Regions from separate parts of the Homo sapiens genome. Here region 1 is linked to region 2. The links are contacts of gene promoters, found by promoter capture Hi-C in human tissues and cell types (Jung and others, 2019). All regions are on one chromosome and are shown on one strand. Each heading gives the region's core, a stretch centred on a gene start or on the middle of the fragment in contact. The rest is flanking DNA. Distances are from core to core; before and after follow the strand shown.

Region 1 (4,661 bases), core at 758-3,257, 780 kb after region 2:
TAAAAGATTGCTTTATAAGCTCAGGATTCTTCATTCTGGCACACACTCACTGCATTACACACTCACTGTATGCAAAGCATCTGTCCAGACCCTTTCTCATCAGTCCTGTTGGACTTGAAGTGCAAGGGGATTGACGTGAGTATCAAGTTTTTGCTTCTTTGCTGTGTTGTCAGTAATAAAGTCTGTTGGACCTGACACCGGAGTCTTATATCTTCTTCAAGCAACCTTGAATTTTTTATTTTTTTTTTTTTTTATTTTTATTTTTGAGACAGAGTCTCTCTGTTGCCCAGGCTGGAGTGCAGTGGCACAATCTCGACTCACTGCAGCCTCCATCTCCTGGGATTAAGGGATTCTTGTGCCTCAGCCTCCCGAGTAGCTGGGATTACAGGCATGTGCACCACTAAAAATACAAAAATTAGCCAGGCATGGTGGTGGGCTCCTGTAATCCCAGCTACTCAGGAAGCTGAGGCAGGAGAATCGCTTGAACCCAGGAGGTGGAGGTCGCAGTGAGCTGAGATCACACATCACTGCACACCAGCCTGGGCAATAGAGCGGGACTCCGTCTCAAAATATAGAAATAGCCGGGCGCGGTGGCTCACTCCTGTAATCCCAGCACTTTGGGAGGCCGAGGTGGCGGATCATCTGAGGTTGGGCGTTCGAGACGAGCCTGACCAACATGGAAAAACCCCGTCTATACTAAAAATACAAAATTAGCCAGGTGTGGGGGCACATGCCTGTAATCCCAGCTACTCAGGAAGGCTGAGGCAGAAGAATCGCTTGAACCCGGGAGGCGGAGGTTGCAGTGAGCCGAGATCACGCCACTGCACTCCAGCCTGGGCAACAAGAGCAGAACTCCATCTCAAACATAAATAAATAAATAAGCTGGGTATAGTGGCATCTGCCTGCGGTCCCAGCTACTGTACTTGGGAGGCTGAGGTGGGAGGATTGGTTCGGTCCAGGAGATTGAGGTGAGGCTACAGTGAGCCATGAATGTGCCGCTGCACTCCAGCCTGTATGACAGAGCAAGACTCTGCCTCAAAAAAACAAAAGAAAACAGCCGGGCATGGTGGCTCATGCCTGTAGTCCCAGCTACTCAGGAGGCTGAGGCAGGAGAATCGCTTAAACCCTGGAGGTGGAGGTTGCAGTGAGTCGAGATTGTGCCACTACACTCCAGCCTGGGCGACAGAGCGAGACTGTCTCAAAAACAAAATAATATTAACGGGAAATAGTATTGGCAAGGATGTGGAGAAAGGGAACCCTTGTACACCATTGGTGGGAATGTAAATTGGTAGAAAACATTATGGAGGTTCCTCAAAAAATTAAAAATAGAACTACCAGGTGATTCAGCAATCCCCCTTCATGGTATATATCCAAAGGAATGAAATCAATATCTTGGAGAGAGATCTGCACTCCTATGTTTATTGCCACAATAACCAAGATGTGGAAAAAACCTAAATGTTCACTGATAAATGGATAAACACACACACACACACACACACACACTATTCAGCCTTTAAAAAAATGGAAATCTAGGCCAGGCGTGGTGGCTCACGCCCGTAATCCCAGCACTTTGGGAGGCCGAGGCTGGTGGATCACCTGAGGTCAGGAGTTCAAAACCAGCCTGGCCAACATAGTGAAACCCCCGTCTCTACTAAAAATACAAAAAACTAGCCGGGCATGTTGGTGGGTGCCTCTAATCCCAGCTACTCGGCAGACTGAGGGAGGAGAATCGCTTGAACCCAGGAGTTGGAGGTTGCAGTGAGCCGAGATAGGGACATTGCACTCCAGCCTGGGTGACAATAGTGAAACTCCGTCTCAAAAAAAACAGGCCAGGCACAGTGGCTCACGCCTGTAATCCAAGCACATTGGGAGGCCAAGGCGGGCAGAACATGAGGTCAGGAGTTCGAGAGCAGCCTGGCCAGCATGGTGAAACCGCATCTCTACTAAAAAAATACAAAAAAATTAGCTGGGCATGGTGGTGCACACCTGTAATCCCAGCTACTCGGGAGGCTGAGGCAGAAGAGTTGCTTGAACCCAGGAGGTCGAAGTTGCAGTGGACCAAGATCGCACCACTACGCTCCAGCCTGGGCGACAGAGTGAAACTGCGTCTCAAATAAAAAGGAAAAAAACGGAAATCTTGTCATTTGTGATGACTTGGACGAACCTAAGGGACATTATGCAAAGTAAAATAAGACAGACACAGAAAGACAAATAACATATGATCTCGTATGTTTTTTTTTTTTGAGACAGAGTGTCGCTCTGTCACCCAGGCTGGAGTGCAGTGGCACGATCTCAGCTCACTGCAAGCTCTGCTTTCTGGGTTCACGCCATTCTCCTGCCCTCCTGAGTAGCTGGGACTACAGGCGCCCACCCCCATGCCCGGCTAATTTTGTTTTTTTATTTTTAGTAGAGACTGGGTTTCACTATGTTGGCCAGGCTGGTTTTGAACCCCTGAGCTTGTGATCTGCCTGCCTCGGCCTCCCAAAGTGCTTGGATTAGGAGCGTGAGCCACCGCGCCCGGCCGTATGACCTCATTTATATGTGGAATCCAAAATAGTCAAACACACAGAAGCAGAAAGCAGAATAGTGGTTGCAAGAGGCTGAGAGGTGGGAGGAAATGAAAAGGTGTTGGTCAAAGTGTGCAAAGTTTCTCATGAAGAGAAACTTTTTTTTTTTAATTTCATGGGGAAATTAAAAAAGCAAAAAGCAAAAAAACAAAAACAAAAAGGAAAGTGTACAAAGTTTCAGTCCTGCAAGATAAACAAGTTCTGGAGGCCTACCGTACAACATAGGGCACATGATTAACAAATACGGCGTTGTACATTTAAAACTTTGCTGAAAGGGTAGGTCTTATATAAGATCTTATGTTATCACAAAAGGACAAACAAAACCAAAGCGGAGTGAAGAAATGAACTGGAAGGGAATTTTTGGAGGCAATTGATAAGTTTATGGCATTAGTTGTGATAATAGTTTCAAGGATGTATACTTATTTCCAAACACGTGAAGTTGTATACATTAAATATCTACAGTTTTTTATATGTCAATCATACCTCAATAAAGTAGTTTTTCTTTCTTTCTGTCTTTCTCTTTTGAGGTGGAGTTTTGCTCTTGTTGCCCAGGCTGGAGAGCAATGCATGATCTCAGCTCACTACAACCTCCACCTCATGGGTTCAAGCAATTCTCCTGCCAAGTAGCTGGGATTACAGGCATGTGCCACCACGTCTGGCTGATTTTGTATTTTTAGTAGAGATGGGGTTTCACTGTGTTGGTCAGGCTGGTCTCGAACTCCCAACGTCAGGTGATCCAGCCACCTAGGCCTCCCAAAATGCTGGTATTACAGGCATGAGCCACCAGACCTAGCCTAATAAAGCATTTTTTTTTTTTTTTTGAGACGGAGTCTCGCTCTGTCGCTCAGGCTGGAGTGCAGTGGCATGATCTCAGCTCACTGCAAGCTCTGCCTCCCGGGTTCACACCATTCTCCTACCTCAGCCTCTGGAGTAGCTGGGACTACAGGCGCCCACCACCACACCTGGCTAATTTTTTGTATTTTTAGTAGAGACGGGGTTTCACCATGTTAGCTAGGATGGTCTCGATCTCCTGACCTCGTGATCCACCCGCCTCGGCCTCCCGAAGTGCTGGGATTACAGGCATGAGCCACCGTGCCCGGCCATAAAGTAGTTTTTAAAAGCTCAAAGAACCCTGCAGAGCTAAGATTCCTAGGAAAAAAAAAAAAAAAACTTAAAGCAACAAAATAATGTTGCCATTTAAAACTAACTGCTCTCATAAGGGACACAATTATGTTAAAGGGAAGACTCACATTCTCCAAATCAAAATGAGTTTAAGTGTACAAATTGGAGAATAGATTTGGGAGAAAATTGACCTATATAGATGGAGAACATAAAATGTTGAGGGAGAGAGGAACCAGGACAGAGAAGAGCAGGACAGCAGGGTAAGGGGCTGCACAGGTAGAAGGGAAGAGCTTCAAGCCCCCAATGCAAGAGCAGCCCAGAAGGGACTGGAAGAAAAATAATTACAATAAGGTTACGAAACTGTTTCCCATGGAGCTGGATGGCATCTCTTTCCTTGTGTGTCAGCCATGCAGTGTCTTTAATAAAGGCCAGGGTTGGGCACGGTGGCTCACACCTGTAATCCCAACTGTTTGAGAGTCCAAGGCAGGAGGATCACTTGTGGCCAGAAGTTTGAGGCCAACCTGGACAACATAGTAAGACCCCATCTCTCTCTTAAAAAAAAGGCCCAATATGGTGGCTCATGCCTGTAATCCCAACATTTTGAGAGGCCAAGGCAGGAGGATCACTTGACCCTGGGGTTTGAGAACAGCCTGGGCAACATGGTGAGACTTCGTCTCCACAAAAAAATTCAAAAATTAGCCAGGCATGGTGGTGTGTGCCTGTGTTCCCAGCTACTCAGGAGGCTGAGACAGGAGTGTCACTTGAGCCCAGGAGGTTGAGCTATGATCCCACCATTGTAATCCAGCCTGGGTGACAGAGCGAGACCCTGTCTCCAAAAACAAAACAAAACAAAAAACAAAAAAACTAGCTGGGTGTCAAGGGCGTCCGTGTGAAGAGACCACCAACAGGCTTTGTGTGAGCAATAAAGCTTTTTGCTGGGCGTAGTGGCTCACGCCTGTAATCCCAGCACTT
Region 2 (4,952 bases), core at 596-3,095:
TAGCCAGGCCTGGTGGTGAGGGCCTGTGGCCCCAGCTAGTTGGGAGGTGAGACGGGAGGATTGCTTGAGCCCCAGAGGTTGAGGTTGCAGTGGGCAGTGTTCCCACCACTGCATTCCATCCTGGGTGTCAGAACTAGGTCCTGTTTCTAGGGAAAAAAAAATTACAACTTGAAGATAAAAAGTACATTTTCTACTTATTTTCAGAAGGCACGTAAAGTGAATTTGATATTACAATACACTTAGGAATTATTTTTTAAAAAAAGAATTTGAGAATGAGGACCAAGGTCTAATTTTTTTCTCTTGCCCAAATTCCTATCTAAAGGGTCTGGGGAGTCATGCCCTACAAACCATAAATACTCATCAGATGGGTTTTATTTAGTCCTATATATCCTGTCTTACTTTCCAGTCTGACTCTGGAATAACGTGACAAAGAAGAAAGTCAAAATATTTTACCCCAAAACATGTTTCTGTGCCATATTTTGAAATGGTCCTGCAAAGCTGTTCTTTGTGAGGGGTACATGTGCATTTGTAAAGAATCTCTGTTAACATAGCTAGATCTTTTTCTTCTAGGCCCTACCAATCCTGAAGAGATTAAGTAAGAATCTCGCACTGTTTAAAGGTCTGAATAGAAAACACTTATCATCTATTATCTCTAAGGGCAGCCAATAGAAGACTTGAAAACAACATTGGTCTCCACAATCTTTTACCTTAACGTGAACATTTCCTCTCCGTTGATCCCAGGTATTTAGACAAACTCAACCAATTGTCAATCAGAAAATGTTTCAATTTACCTGTAGCCCAGAAGTCCCCGCTTTGAGTTGCCCCTCCTTTCTGAACCAAAGCAGCGTATTTCTTAAATGTATTTGATTGATGTCTAATGCCTCCCTAAAATGTCTAAGAACAAGCTGTTCCCCATCACCTTGGACACATGTTCTCAGGACCTCCTGAGGGTCATTCATATTTAGCTTAGAATAAATCTCTTAAGATATTTTACAGTTTGATTCTTTTCCACGACAAAAATAACTCATTTTAAGTGCAGCATGAAATAATAAACGTAAGAAACAACTGGGCAACTTATATGCACTGTTACAATGTCAGTGCTTTTTTTAAATCACTTTTTTGTTTATTGAGACGGAGGAGGGAGCTCTGGGATAGAGGGTCTTACTTTGTCGCCCAGGCTGGCCTGGAACTCCAGGCTCAGCGATCCTCTCGCCCCTGCTTCCTGAGTAGCGGGGACCCCAGACTCCTGCCACCCCGCCCGCATCCCTGCTGTGTTTAAGCACACTCCTCTGCTCCGCACCCCAGACGGTGGCCCTAGGGAAGTCTCAGGAGCTGAGCACAGTGTGGACTCTCCCACTCCAGTGAATGGAGAATTGAAAGGGAGAGGATTTCTATTCTGTTCTGTGGACCGTCAGCATGAAATTGTACCTTTCGCTCAGGCAAGGCTTTGCATTTCGCATTCTAGTTTGCATTCCTGCCGTAGACAACTTCCAGGCTTTGGAATTAAATTGCTAAAATAAATTTCAATAGCAAGGAACTTTCCCGGATCCAATTACCGCCACACGGCGACTTCTCAGGGAGGTACTATTTCCCTGACTGCTGAGCTGCTCCAGCCTCACTGGCGGGTTTCACCTCTAAAACCTTGAAAACAGAGGCGCGGAGAGCGAGATGGAGAAAAGCTCAGGCCCCGCCCCTTTCCCGCCCCCGCGGACTCCTCCCAGCCCAAGACTCTTCTCTTCCGCGCCGGGCCCCTTGTCCTTTGCACCCCGCCCCGGCCTCGCCCAGGCCCCGCCCACCTCTCGGGGATCTGGCCCAGGTCCCGCTTCTGTCCTGCGCCGATTGGCACAGACCCGGAAGCGGATGGCGTGGACTGAAAGTTGCACGGCGGCGTGTGCGTTTCCTAGTTGTCTGGTGCTGCTATATAGGGGACGTGGGGTCCCCACAGACCTGCAGGTTCCGGCCCCTCTTTTCTCAACCCAGAGCAAATTGAAACGTCCGGGTGAGAGTCCGTGAGTCGCTTCCTTTTGAGTTTAAAGTTGCCCTGAGGCTGGTCCCGTCCCCGGTCTTTCTGCAGTGGGGCCGTGCAGACACCTCCTGTCGCGAAACTTTCCTTAGCAAAACCCTTTCTGACGCGTCCTCCCGCCTCGCGCTGTTTCAAGTCCTCACCCGGAGCTGGATTCTTGCCCTGGGCAAGAGCGCTTCCCAGCCTCGCTCTAGTCGGCCCCTGGAGCGCAGCGTTGCAGCCCCGCAGCCCCAGGGTGGCCGGTGCTTTGTGGCCACTCCTGGGCTCTTTCCCTTTCCATCTGAGACGTGGTGGAAGTGGGAGGGCTACAGGGAGAGTACCCTTTGATCCTTTGTTACTACGGGTGGGGAGATGGGGTTATTCCTTTTGGTCTAGTTTTGCAAAGTTCACATTAATTGGCCTTAGATTCCCAGAGCCAGGACCCAGATTTTCACTTTTCTTCTTTGTTGTTGGAGATGGGTCTCTGTGCCTACAGACTAGTATAGCCTGTGCCTGGACTAGTATAGTATAGTATAGTCTCTGTGCCTGGACTAGTATAGTCCAGCGGGGGCCGTCCAGTCTCAATGAAATTCTGGATGAGCCTAGGCAGTCTGTAATTTAGAAAATTTACGTAATGAGTTCTTTTCAGTGTGGTTTAAGCCTCACCAAGTGACTGTCCTTGTTGTGCTGTTGTATACAACTTCTGTCCTAGACAATTGAGCTTTCTTACGGGGTTGCTGAAGTTTTTTCTTTCCTTAGCTACATAGTATTGTCTAATAACTGAGGTTTTTAGGACCTAGAAGTTGCTAGTTTGGGCCTTCTGAGCTGGAATTGTGTGAGGAACTGGATCAGTGGGCACCAACTCTCGGGCTTCCTGAGGCCATCGGTCTCCAACAGTAGTTCCTCCGCGTACATAACAAGAAGCAACATTGAGGGAATGAGCTACATTTTCCGTTAACTGGAGAAACAAGTTCCTTGTCTTTTTTGGAAGCTCTGGTGCTGGCAGATTTAGCTCATTATAAAAGGCTTGAAACACTGGTTTGGGAAAGGGCCTGGGGACCTCCCCTCGGACTAAAATGGCAACTTGGGGGGTTACCCTTGTCCTATTGACCGTCAGGATTACACCTTCTCTTTTTCTCTAACGGGGGTCTAGGGAATTAGTGATTATTAGTTCTAGTGGGTTACAGTGACTGCTAGCACAGGAGGGGTTGGCTTCTTTTTTTTGAAAGTGAACCGGGTCTTTTTTGTCATTTTTCTAAGTAGCCTAAATAACACATGGGCAACAGGCAAATTTTCACAGACCTCTGCCTCATGACAAACATTTATTTTCTACTGTGCAGCTCCTTTCTTAGTTAAGAGAGCCACATCTTAATCTGAGCTTGTTACTATTAATGGCTGCACAAGCATCAAATTTAAAGTTTCTTGTTTGGGGATTCTTTTTTCTTCTGTTCTAGTTATTATTTTACTTGTGTCACCTAGGAAAGGACCAGTTCTTAATCTTATTTGAAAAACGGTGGTTGCAGGAGGCTTAGATGGGTTATAACCCATAGTAGGTTTGTCATTTCCTGGGCTACGTACCTTGTATTGAGTGGAATTATACAAATAAGATCCTTTTAACGTGCCTGTACATTCATAATAACTATAGAACAGAAAGATTGTTTTAATTTGCTGTCCTATCTCAGTGACCTGATGAATACACTGGGAACAGTCCTTAGTTTGAGGAAGGTCAGTTGAAGCCTTTACTGTACAAGTCTAAAATTTAAGAAGAATGAGTCCCACGATGAGCTTCCTCATGCTTCCACTGTGCGTAGGACCAGTCAGCTTCCGGGTGTGACTGGAGCAGGGCTTGTCGTCTTCTTCAGGGTCACTTTGCAGGGGTTATCTGGGCTTGGCCTTGCCTCCCAGGTTTCAGGCGCTGCAGGTTTTATATGGCTGTGGTGGATCCAGGCCGGGATTCCTTCTACCTTCACAGCGGTGGGAGTGGTCAGGATGACGGTCTGGGGTACTTTCCAGTGGGGGCACACAGGGGCTACGTTCCAGTCCTTGATCCACACTCAATCACCCGGGGAGAAAGAGTGAACTGGGGAGAATAAGCTAATGGGGCATCTCTCATTTACCTGGGCTGAAATCATTTGTGTAATTTTTCCTAAGGCCTTAAGCTATTTTTGATAATCCGATTCATTCACTCCACCTTTCCAGAACTCTGAGGTCAGAAGGCAGCATGCAGTTTCCACGTGATCTTTAATACCTTTGCTGTCGTCTGTACTAAGTCAGCCACAAACTCCAGCCCGTTATCCGAGCTGATTCGTAAGGGCCGTCCAAATCTAGGAATAAGATCTCGAAGAAGCACATGAGCTTTCTCAGTTCGTGTGGGATAAGCCTCCACCTACCTAGAGTAGGTACACACGAGAACTAGTAAATACTTGTTACTTCTACACTTTGGCATTTCTGTGAAGTCCACCTGGAGATCTTCAAAGGGGGCTGCTTCATAAGCTTGTATGCCGGGCAGAATGGCTGAACCCTGCCTCGCATTGTGCTGTCGGCAGGTAACACACCGCTGTGCCACGGTTTTGGCGAGGGCTGACAATTGTGAGCTGTAGAAGTACCAGCCTAACAACTGTTCAAGTGACTCCTGACCTAGATGGGTGGTTTCATGCACCTCCAGTACAACTGTGGCTCCTAGCAGCTGTGGCACAGGTACTGTCCTATTTGGTGACCGGATCCTTCCTTCTTCCATCACCTGTCTTCCCTCTGCCTGGAGAAAGTCTTTTTCTTCTTTAGAATAAGTAGGTACAAGGTCAGGTGCTTGAGGGAGCAAGGGGGCTGTGACTGATGCCCAGTAGGGTGTGGATGTTGCTTTTCGAGCTTCTGAGTCAGCTCTGGAGTTCCCTAAGGCAACCGAGGTGGAAGCTCGCTGGTGTCCTCTGCAGTGCATGACTGCCACATTGTG

What was found. The method cuts DNA at HindIII sites, captures the fragments that hold promoters and counts their contacts. A contact is called where the count stands out against the background at its distance.
Region 1: a contact is called between a fragment that was not itself captured here and the fragment with the promoter of ZNF816 in region 2, in 1 of the 25 tissues and cell types used here (spleen).

What each region holds. Positions count from the first base shown.
Region 1 is chr19:52,178,615-52,183,275 of GRCh38, reverse strand. No RefSeq gene overlaps it. Among named protein-coding and RNA genes, the nearest start is that of PPP2R1A, 9.1 kb to the left of the region's middle. The HindIII fragment of the contact is 6,111 bases long and covers 1-4,661 here.
Region 2 is chr19:52,959,774-52,964,725 of GRCh38, reverse strand. It overlaps ZNF816 (zinc finger protein 816), which reads left to right and starts at 1,845. Exons shown (of 4, transcript NM_001202457.3): 1 at 1,845-1,999. It overlaps ZNF816-ZNF321P (ZNF816-ZNF321P readthrough), which reads left to right and starts at 1,845. Exons shown (of 4, transcript NM_001202473.2): 1 at 1,845-2,009. RefSeq lists a silencer at 1,618-1,817 and an enhancer at 1,878-2,127. The HindIII fragment of the contact is 7,894 bases long and covers 1-4,952 here.